Linked DNA regions of Homo sapiens: region 1 is linked to region 2. Evidence: promoter capture Hi-C in human tissues and cell types (Jung and others, 2019). All regions are on one chromosome and are shown on one strand. Each heading gives the region's core, a stretch centred on a gene start or on the middle of the fragment in contact. The rest is flanking DNA. Distances are from core to core; before and after follow the strand shown. Region 1 has its middle 14 kb from the start of PTPN2. Region 2 holds the start of SPIRE1 (spire type actin nucleation factor 1).

The links. Contacts are between HindIII fragments. The study calls those that stand out against the background at their distance.
Region 1: a contact is called between a fragment that was not itself captured here and the fragment with the promoter of SPIRE1 in region 2, in 1 of the 25 tissues and cell types used here (psoas muscle).

The regions. Positions count from the first base shown.
Region 1 is chr18:12,896,078-12,900,034 of GRCh38, reverse strand. No RefSeq gene overlaps it. Among named protein-coding and RNA genes, the nearest start is that of PTPN2, 14 kb to the right of the region's middle. The HindIII fragment of the contact is 3,045 bases long and covers 760-3,804 here.
Region 2 is chr18:12,656,416-12,660,772 of GRCh38, reverse strand. SPIRE1 (spire type actin nucleation factor 1) reads left to right here and starts at 2,666. Exons shown (of 17, transcript NM_001128626.2): 1 at 2,666-3,243. The coding sequence starts at 2,907. It also overlaps a transcript of PSMG2 not described here. RefSeq lists silencers at 2,207-2,356, 2,407-2,476, 2,479-2,647, 2,517-2,936, 3,127-3,246. The HindIII fragment of the contact is 13,339 bases long and covers 1-4,357 here.

The DNA of each region.
Region 1 (3,957 bases), core at 1,033-3,532, 240 kb before region 2:
GTGGACCCACTGCAGGGTATACTTGGGTCAGAACTCCATGTATCATCTGCCCTTCAAAAGCTCTGAGTGTAACTGGAGGAACATAACAGGATTTCAGGTCCCGTGGTATCTGAAGTTTCAACTCAGATTTTCTATCCATTTCCTTGGCACCATTGGGCTGCTAGGTGGCTGTAGGTTCCATTGGTGAAGGACTAGGGTAATAGTTATCATCTGTATTTTTAGTGGTGGTGCAGAGTCTTTCATTACAGAGAACTGGCAGGCTTCCCTTCAATCAATGTGCATTAGATCTGTGAACTGACTTAGCTTTGGAAATTGAATGAAGGATTGTGATTTTCCATTGCAGTGGCTAATTTCAAACTTCAGCTTCCCAGCACTTCTTTTTTTTTTTTTTCAAATTGTCCAAGTCAAGTCACAACCTAATTGTTGTTCACCCGTCTCAGCCCCTGGAACAGAGCCCACAGATCCTAGCAGGTCACAGCAGCGTAACTGCCATGCTGGCCTTGCTGCCCATGATACTAACTTCATTCCCCTTCTGCTGCTGCCTCCTCTCTGCGATTTCAGAATCCCGTCATGCCCATTGATACCTGGCATCCATTGGCAGGATCTTCCACTGGCCGGCTCTGGCCTACAAAGGACAATTCCTACCAAGCTTCTCAAAGATGGTCATGCCTCCCTCACCAGTGGGTCTTTGTGCTTTATGAAGGGAGTCTCCTCTGAGTCTTCCCAAAGAACACAGCCGGGAAGTGGGTTCTCTGATACCACATACTAAGCCTATTCTAATGTCTAATTTCCCTGAGCTCGTCTAGTATTCTGCCAAGGAAATTAAAGCATCCTCACCTCATTCATTGTAGGTCATCTTCCTGCCCAAGCTTCAGGAAACTATCCGAGCAGTGGATGAGAAGTGGATTCAGATGCCCTGACTAGGACTCCCAAACCAAGGGGTATATTCCTATATCAATAAATCCTTCTCTACCCATCCTTATATTTGCATCTTCCTTGGCCCAACATCTTAAGCTTTATAATTGCCCATTTTCCTCTCCTTCCTGTTGGTCCACATTAGACAGGTCTTACAATTCTTAGGATATATAAGATTTCTGCCTGGAGTTTGGACTGTTTACCTAAGCTGTGTTGGGATCAGACCCTGCTTCTTAGTATGGAGGTAACAAGTGGTGGCAGGGGTTGCTTTTGGGGAGTTAGTGGCTAAAACTGAGTTTCCTTGCCCTTTGAGACACTTTCTCATGTGAGGGCTTCTGTGAATCTAGTAAGAATGGGGGCGCACATCTGCTGGCCTGGGGGAGCCAAAAAAACCTGGGGTTGCAAGGTTCTCAGGCTGGTCCAAGTCCACCCAGGTATTTCTCAAGTCAATGATTTGAGGACGAGACCATTTATGGCTATGCATTCATGCTCCTTTGCATCTCTGTTTTCCTAATAACACAGTGCTGTGCCTGATTTTCATCCACACATTCTACGAATAAAATGAGCGTCTCCATGAATGCAGTTATGGAGCCGCTTTGCTTCCACAACCTGCCTCAAGCTGACAGTTGCAGGTGGAAACCTGTTTGACTTTTTTTTCAAGACGTCCAGAGCATTTAACAAAGACCAGGAACCTCCAAAATCGTTATAGTTCCCCTCGCCCCAATACCACTTAGGTGTCAGAGCTGCCACATGCCCAGTGCTTTACCTTCCACCTGCACCTCATCCCAAGCCACCAGGGTGAGATCCTTAGCAATCGTGATGTTACCAGATGCCACTCACTCCAGCCTCGTGTTTCTTAGCTCTGTGTTTTCCAGCTCCAAAATCCCATCCTGAGAATCTGCTTCCTAGGCCCATGTCTGTGACTAATTACCTTAGCCTGAGTTCCCTGAAAGCAGACCCTGAGACCAAGGCTTGTTGCAAGGACTTTATTTGGGAAAGCGCTTCTAGAGAGCAGCAGTGCAGGGAAGGAGGATGAACAGGTGAGGAGGAAAAGCAAACATAAGAAAGCCTTGTCACGTCCATCACCAGACACAAATGACGCTTGTTCACACTGAGACTGACTTACTTTTTCTTTCTTCCTTTCTTTCTTTCTTTCTTTCTTTTCTTTCTTTCTTTCTCTCTTTCTTTCTCTCTCTCTCTCTCTCTCTCTCTGTCTCTCTCTCTCTCTCTCTGTCTGTCTGTCTCTCTCTCTCTTTTTCTTTTTAAGACAGAGACTCACTCTGTCACCCAGGCTGGAGTGCAATGGCACGATCTTGGCTCACTGCAACCTTCGCCTCCTGGGTTCAAGAGATTCTTCTGCCTCAGCCTCCTAAGTAGCTGGGATTACAGGTGCCTGACACCACACCCAGCTAATTTTTGTATTTTTAGTAGAGATGGGGTTTCACCATGTTGGTCAAGCTGGCCTCAAAGTCCTGATCTTAGGTGATCCACCCGCCTTGACCTCCCAAAGTGCTGGGATTACAGGCATGAGTCACCACGCCCGGCCCCCACTGGGACTTTCTAAGGAGCCATGAGAAATGCATCCGAGAATCGGCCACCTGGAGGCTCGGTGCAGTGGCTCACATTTATAATCCCAGCACTTTGGGAGGCTGAGGCAGGAAGATCCCTTGAGTTCAGGAGTTCAAGACCAGCCTGGGCAATATAGTGAGACCTTATCTCTACAAAAAAACTTTTTTTTAATTAGCTGGACATGTTGGCATGCACCTAGTCCCAGCAACTCAGGAGGCTGAGGTGGGAGGATCACTTGAGCCCGGGAGGTCAAGGCTGCAGTGAGCCATGATCACACCATTGCCCTCCAGCCTGGGCAACAGAGCAAGACCTTGTTTCAAAACAAAACAAAACAAAAGCAAAACAAAAAAAAATCAAATAATTGCCTTCCTGGGGTGTGAAAGGGGAAATCAACATCGGTTAAGAGTGGTGCCGCGGCGGCGGCGGCGGCGGCGGCGGCGGCGGCCTCGACCTGGCCCGGCGGCGGCCTCGATGGCTCAGGCGTCTTGGCTCCCGACGGGCGCTGCTCCCTGGCGCGCTCTGTTGAGGCGCCGGCCGGCTGGCGCAGTCCTGTGGGCAGCGTGGCGCTTGCAAGCGCAGGAAGAGTTCTGGGGGGACCGCGGTGGGCGGGATACCTTTGGCGCCGGCTCTTCCTCTTTCTCCCGGTTTGTTCCCGACGGTGCTCGCTCGTGGGCCCGCCCTGGCCCGGGCTTTCTGGCCCCGTAGTACCCGCGCGGCCTAGTTCTCGGGGGCTTGGGCACCCGGGTGCTGTATCGGCGGGTTTCTTCCCATGTCCTGGACATTTACTTTATATGCTGCGGCGGAGGTCGTACCTCCTTGGCCTGGAGGAACCCAGTGGGGACTGACGCAGCTCCGGGTGAGCTTTGGCGGCTGTGTCGAGTGACAACGTAGGCATCTCAGCACGGACATTTGCAGTGGCCCGACGGCGCAAATGACAGGGGAAGTCCCCTTGTTTTGAGTATGAGGTGTTTGTCGCTGTCCCTTTATAAGGGTCCAACTCCACTCATACTCACCTCCCTCGCCCCCCCCCCCACCCCGCCCAGAACACTTTGGTAGCTGCCTTTGCTTAAAAAAAAAAAAATTCTAAAGTTCTTACAAATCGTTAGTATGGCTTACAATTTTTAACCTTTTCCACAAATGTTTTTAGGGTATTTTTCCTCTTTACAGGTAAATGATGTGATCTATTTTGGATTCAATAAGACTTTAGTAATTGGATCTAAAGAGTGACGGAAGAAGCTATTAAAGGTGGATGTGCACAGAAAAAAAAAAAAAAAAGAGTGGTGCCACTGGTGCTAACTCCTCTGCACATCTGAGTTAAGAATGTTTCAGTGAATTGTGTGTTCGTTTAGGTGTTGCAAGTCACAGCATCAGAGAAGCCCCAGAGCGGAAAGTGAAAGGTGCTCAGAGATGATCATTCATATGGCTATGAACTAATTAAGATTCAGGGATTTGAATGTGTCTCCTCATAACAAG
Region 2 (4,357 bases), core at 1,417-3,916:
TGGCAATAAAAAAAAAAGCCCTTCTGTTGGATATAACTGTCTTGTGATACAGTGCAGTAATGTCTCCCTCTCAAAATGTGTATATGTTAAAAAAAATCATCACTCAAGGAAAATCCTAGTGTTGCAAATTTGTTTTTAAGAATGTATCTTTTGGCCGGGCACAGTGGCTCACACCTGTAATCCCAGCGCTTTTGGAGGCTGAGGCGGGTGGACCACTGAAGTCAGGAGTTTGAGACCAGCCTGGCCAACATGGTAAAACCCTGTCTTTACTAAAAATACAAAAATTAGCCAGGCATGGTAGCGTGTGCCTGTAATCCCAGCTACTCGGGAGGCCGAGGCACGAGAATCATCTCAACCCAGGAGGCGGAAGTTGCAGTGAGCTGAAATCGCGGCACTGACCCTAGCCTGGGAGACAGGGTGAGACTCTGTCTCAATTAAAAAAAAAAAAAAAATGCATCTTTTTCCATTGATTAGAGGGATGACTAAAAAAAGAAGAATGCATCTTTTAAAAGATAAAGTTTGGATTTCCTTTACTCACTTCCTCCTTCCCTGTATTGTTGTCTTCAAGATTTATTTACTGCTCTATGCCAGGGTTAGCAGGTTAATGGCTCATAGATTCCTCAGTTTATTAACCCATTTATCTTGTTTACTGGTGGGTAAGGCAAAGATAAAAATGTGTTTGGCTGTAGTTGTCCAAGTGCAATGGGCAGCAGTATCCCATAAGGCCAGGAGGTGGTAGTGTTGTCCATAAAAGTAGACCTTCATTTTTTTTCCTGGATTGTTCAAAATATTTTAAACCAGTCTGTATTTGCAAAATCCACACAGGATAAACTTTTGAAATAGCAAAATTTGGGAATGTTTGTCTGTTTTTAATCAAGAGGACAGAGATATATTTATATGTATATAGTGTCACACATAAGGAATTACATGTTTGCCTCTCTGGGCTTTGGCACACATAGATACTGCATTGCTACAAATGAGATTATGAACCTATAATTAAGTGATGCTACTTTAAGGGGTTGTTTTGTCTCTCTCGTACTGAAATTATAATAAGTTGCCTGGGGAGCTTTCTTCTCCTCTTTCAATTTATTATTTATTTTTTTGAGACAGACTCTCGCTCTGTCCCCCAGGCTGGAGTGCAGTGGTGTGATCTTGGCTCATTGCAACTTCCACCTCCCAGGTTCAAGCGATTCTCCTGCCTCAGCCTCCCGGGTAGCTGGGATTACAAGCGTGCGTCACCACACTCGGCTAATTTTCTTTGTATTTTTAGTAGAGACAGGGTTTCCCCATGTTGGCCAGGCTGGTCTCGAACTCCTGACCTCAGTGATCTGCCCGCCTCAGCCTCCCAAAGTGCTGGGATTACAGGCCTAAGCCACTGCGCACGGCCCTCTTTCAATTTCTTAATTTTCCTTTTCGTCCTGTTGCTTTTCTCCCTCCTCCCCATTCCCAGCTGTATGTAAGATGGTATCTCATTTTAATAGACTGTTGTTATTTAAATAGACTGTTGTAGTTTCTACCGCAAGATGCAATTGTTGAGAGCGTGATTTCTAACATTTTACATAAAACTGCCGTAAAAGGTTTACTGGAACTTAATATACATTGCCTATTTGGTTGATGCTTTCAACACTCTGTAGGGCTTTCACACAGGACTAGCCTCAGTGGAATTTTATCGATTAAATTAATCTACCAATGGGTGATTAAGAATTATCTGTTTTATTGCATATTTAATAGGTTGGGGGGGCGGAATTCTTTCTTTCTACGGCTAATTGCCCTCAGTTCAATTTTACCACTGTGATATTCATTCCACATGCTCTGATGAGTGTGGTACTTGAGACATTACCTTAGTGAGGGAAGGGACCAATGTTACAAATGAATCCGGAAGGACGCTAAAACTAACACCTGCAAATTATGTACATGTTTATATTCCAGGCGCTGGTTTAGCTTTTGGGAGAAGTCAGTGAGGAAAACCCGTAAAGATCCCCGTCTTTACGGTGCTTACCCTGAAGATGGGAGTGGAGAGGGAGGTATTCAACCAGCAAGAAATCGGAAAACGCGCAGAGCGGCCGCGGGGTCACGGGAAACTGCCGGAGGCTTTCAGGGCCCAGGGCCCGGCGGGGAGGCTTCAGCGGGCCTGCATTTTCTTAGGCATCCGCTCCAGGCGGGTTCAAGTTTTCAACCAGACCTTCGGCGATCCAGCGCCTAGGGAACGTCAATGCGGGTGACTTCTCCCGCTGTGCAGGGCGGTGACCCGGGTTGGCGCGCCCAGTTCCCCGCCAGAGTCGGCCGGGGACTTCCCTGATAAATGCGACACCCTCTTGCCCCTGCGCCCCCCGACCGCGCGCCCGGCCCCGCGTGTCCCCCACGCCCCACAACCCTGCACGCCCTACCCGGCCGCGCATCCCCTCCGGACCGTGCGTCGCCGCCCTCACCATTGCGCCCCCAGCTGTGTGTCCCTTGCGACCGGGCCCCCCGACCGGGCGTCACCGCCTGCGACTCTGAGAGCCCTGCGGGCTAGAGACCGTGCGGCCATCTCGCCTCGAGGCGAGGCCCTCCTGCCTGGTCCTCACCTCCAGAGCGTGCATCCCCCGGCCCGTGCGGCCCCCTAAGGGGCGGGCGCTGGGCGGCGCTGGACGGCGCGAGGCGGGGCGGGGCGGGGCGGGGCGCCGGACGCCATCGCGTCGCTACCGGCCGGCGGCTGTCTGACCGGGACTGCAGCCGTGTCCTCGCCGCCCTCCTCTTGCCCACGCCTCCCGGGCACTCGCCTGGTCCCGGCGGCGGCGCGCGCGGCCGCGTTGGGCGGCGGCGGTTCCGGGGATGGTGAGGCGGCGGCGCGCGACGACGATGCTCCGGAGCTGAGGAGACGCCGGCACACGGCGCGACTGCCGAGCGCAGCGCCCACCCGCGGGATGGCTCAGGCGGCTGGCCCGGCGGGCGGCGGGGAGCCGCGGACTGAGGCAGTGGGCGGCGAGGGGCCGCGGGAGCCCGGGGCAGCCGGCGGCGCGGCCGGGGGCTCCCGGGACGCGCTGAGCCTGGAGGAGATCCTGCGGCTGTACAACCAGCCCATCAACGAGGAGCAGGCGTGGGCCGTGTGCTACCAGTGCTGCGGTTCCCTGCGCGCCGCCGCCCGCCGCCGCCAGCCCCGCCACCGTGTGCGCTCGGCCGCGCAGATCCGCGTCTGGAGGGACGGCGCCGTCACCCTGGCGCCCGCGGCCGACGACGCGGGAGAGCCGCCCCCAGTTGCGGGTGAGGCCGCCGGGCCCCTTTCCCTCGTAGTTCTTGGAACACCCGCGGCTGGGCCGCCTTACCCTCAGCGTCCCCGGCCCTTCCGCCCCCGCCGTCCCCCCCCATTTTGCCACGGGAGACCCCCGGGAGGATCCGGCGGGGACCCGCAGGGGAGGACGGCGTCAGGCCGTGGCTGGCCGGGGCCCCTCGGAGGTCAGAGCCTCGTGGCGGGCGACGGCGCAAATCCGCTGTGCGGAGGACGTTTGGGTGGGCCTGGGCCTGCGGGCCGCGGGGCGCTCGTCATTGTGCTGCCCGCGGGACAGCTGCCCGCGGCGCGTTTGGGAGCGGTGGGCTGGGCCCTGCTCCGGGCCAGCGGCCTGTGCGCCTCACGCCGTGGCTGCTGACACACGGCCGGGTTCACGGGGTGGGGAGGGCATCGCAGGCTTCACGCGGGGGCTCCGCACGGATCCTCAGTGCCGCTGTCGGAAACACCGCACTCCTCACGGGAAACTAGCAGTATTCCACATTAGACAGCCTTTCCTCGGTTCGGAAATGTAAAGATGATTCTGAACCGTGAGAATTCTGCTCTTTGGGGAGAAATGGAAAAATAGACTAAATAGTGATTTTTGGCTCCTGGACGTTAGAAAATACTGATTGCATTCCTGTATGTGAAAATTTGTTGTGATGAAAAACAGGCTTGTAAAGTGAAAAGTTGACAGGATGTCGGGATACAAAGAGAAAATGGGCCTTAGTTACGTCATTGTCTAATGTAAAATTTTCAGGATTATGACCTAAACAGTAATTTATAGCCAGGGTTTACTCAGATGCTCATTGAAGAGGAGGAGGAGGTTGAGAAAAGGTTTCTCCCATCAGTTTTTATCTAATTCATTCTTTTGAGAGGCAAGTCTATTAAAAACATAGAAAAACAATCTACCCTCACTTTTAGAAAGTTGATGGAAATGTCAAAATGCTTAAGGTGAAAGATGTAATTTCGAATTAGTAAAATGACATTTAATGAAAACCCTTGTCTAACTTGATTAAAACAATATTCAAGGTTATAGTTATTCTTTCAGTTCCACCAGAACGTTTTTATCTTTTATTTTTTAGTGTCAGGTAAACACATTTTTATTTACAT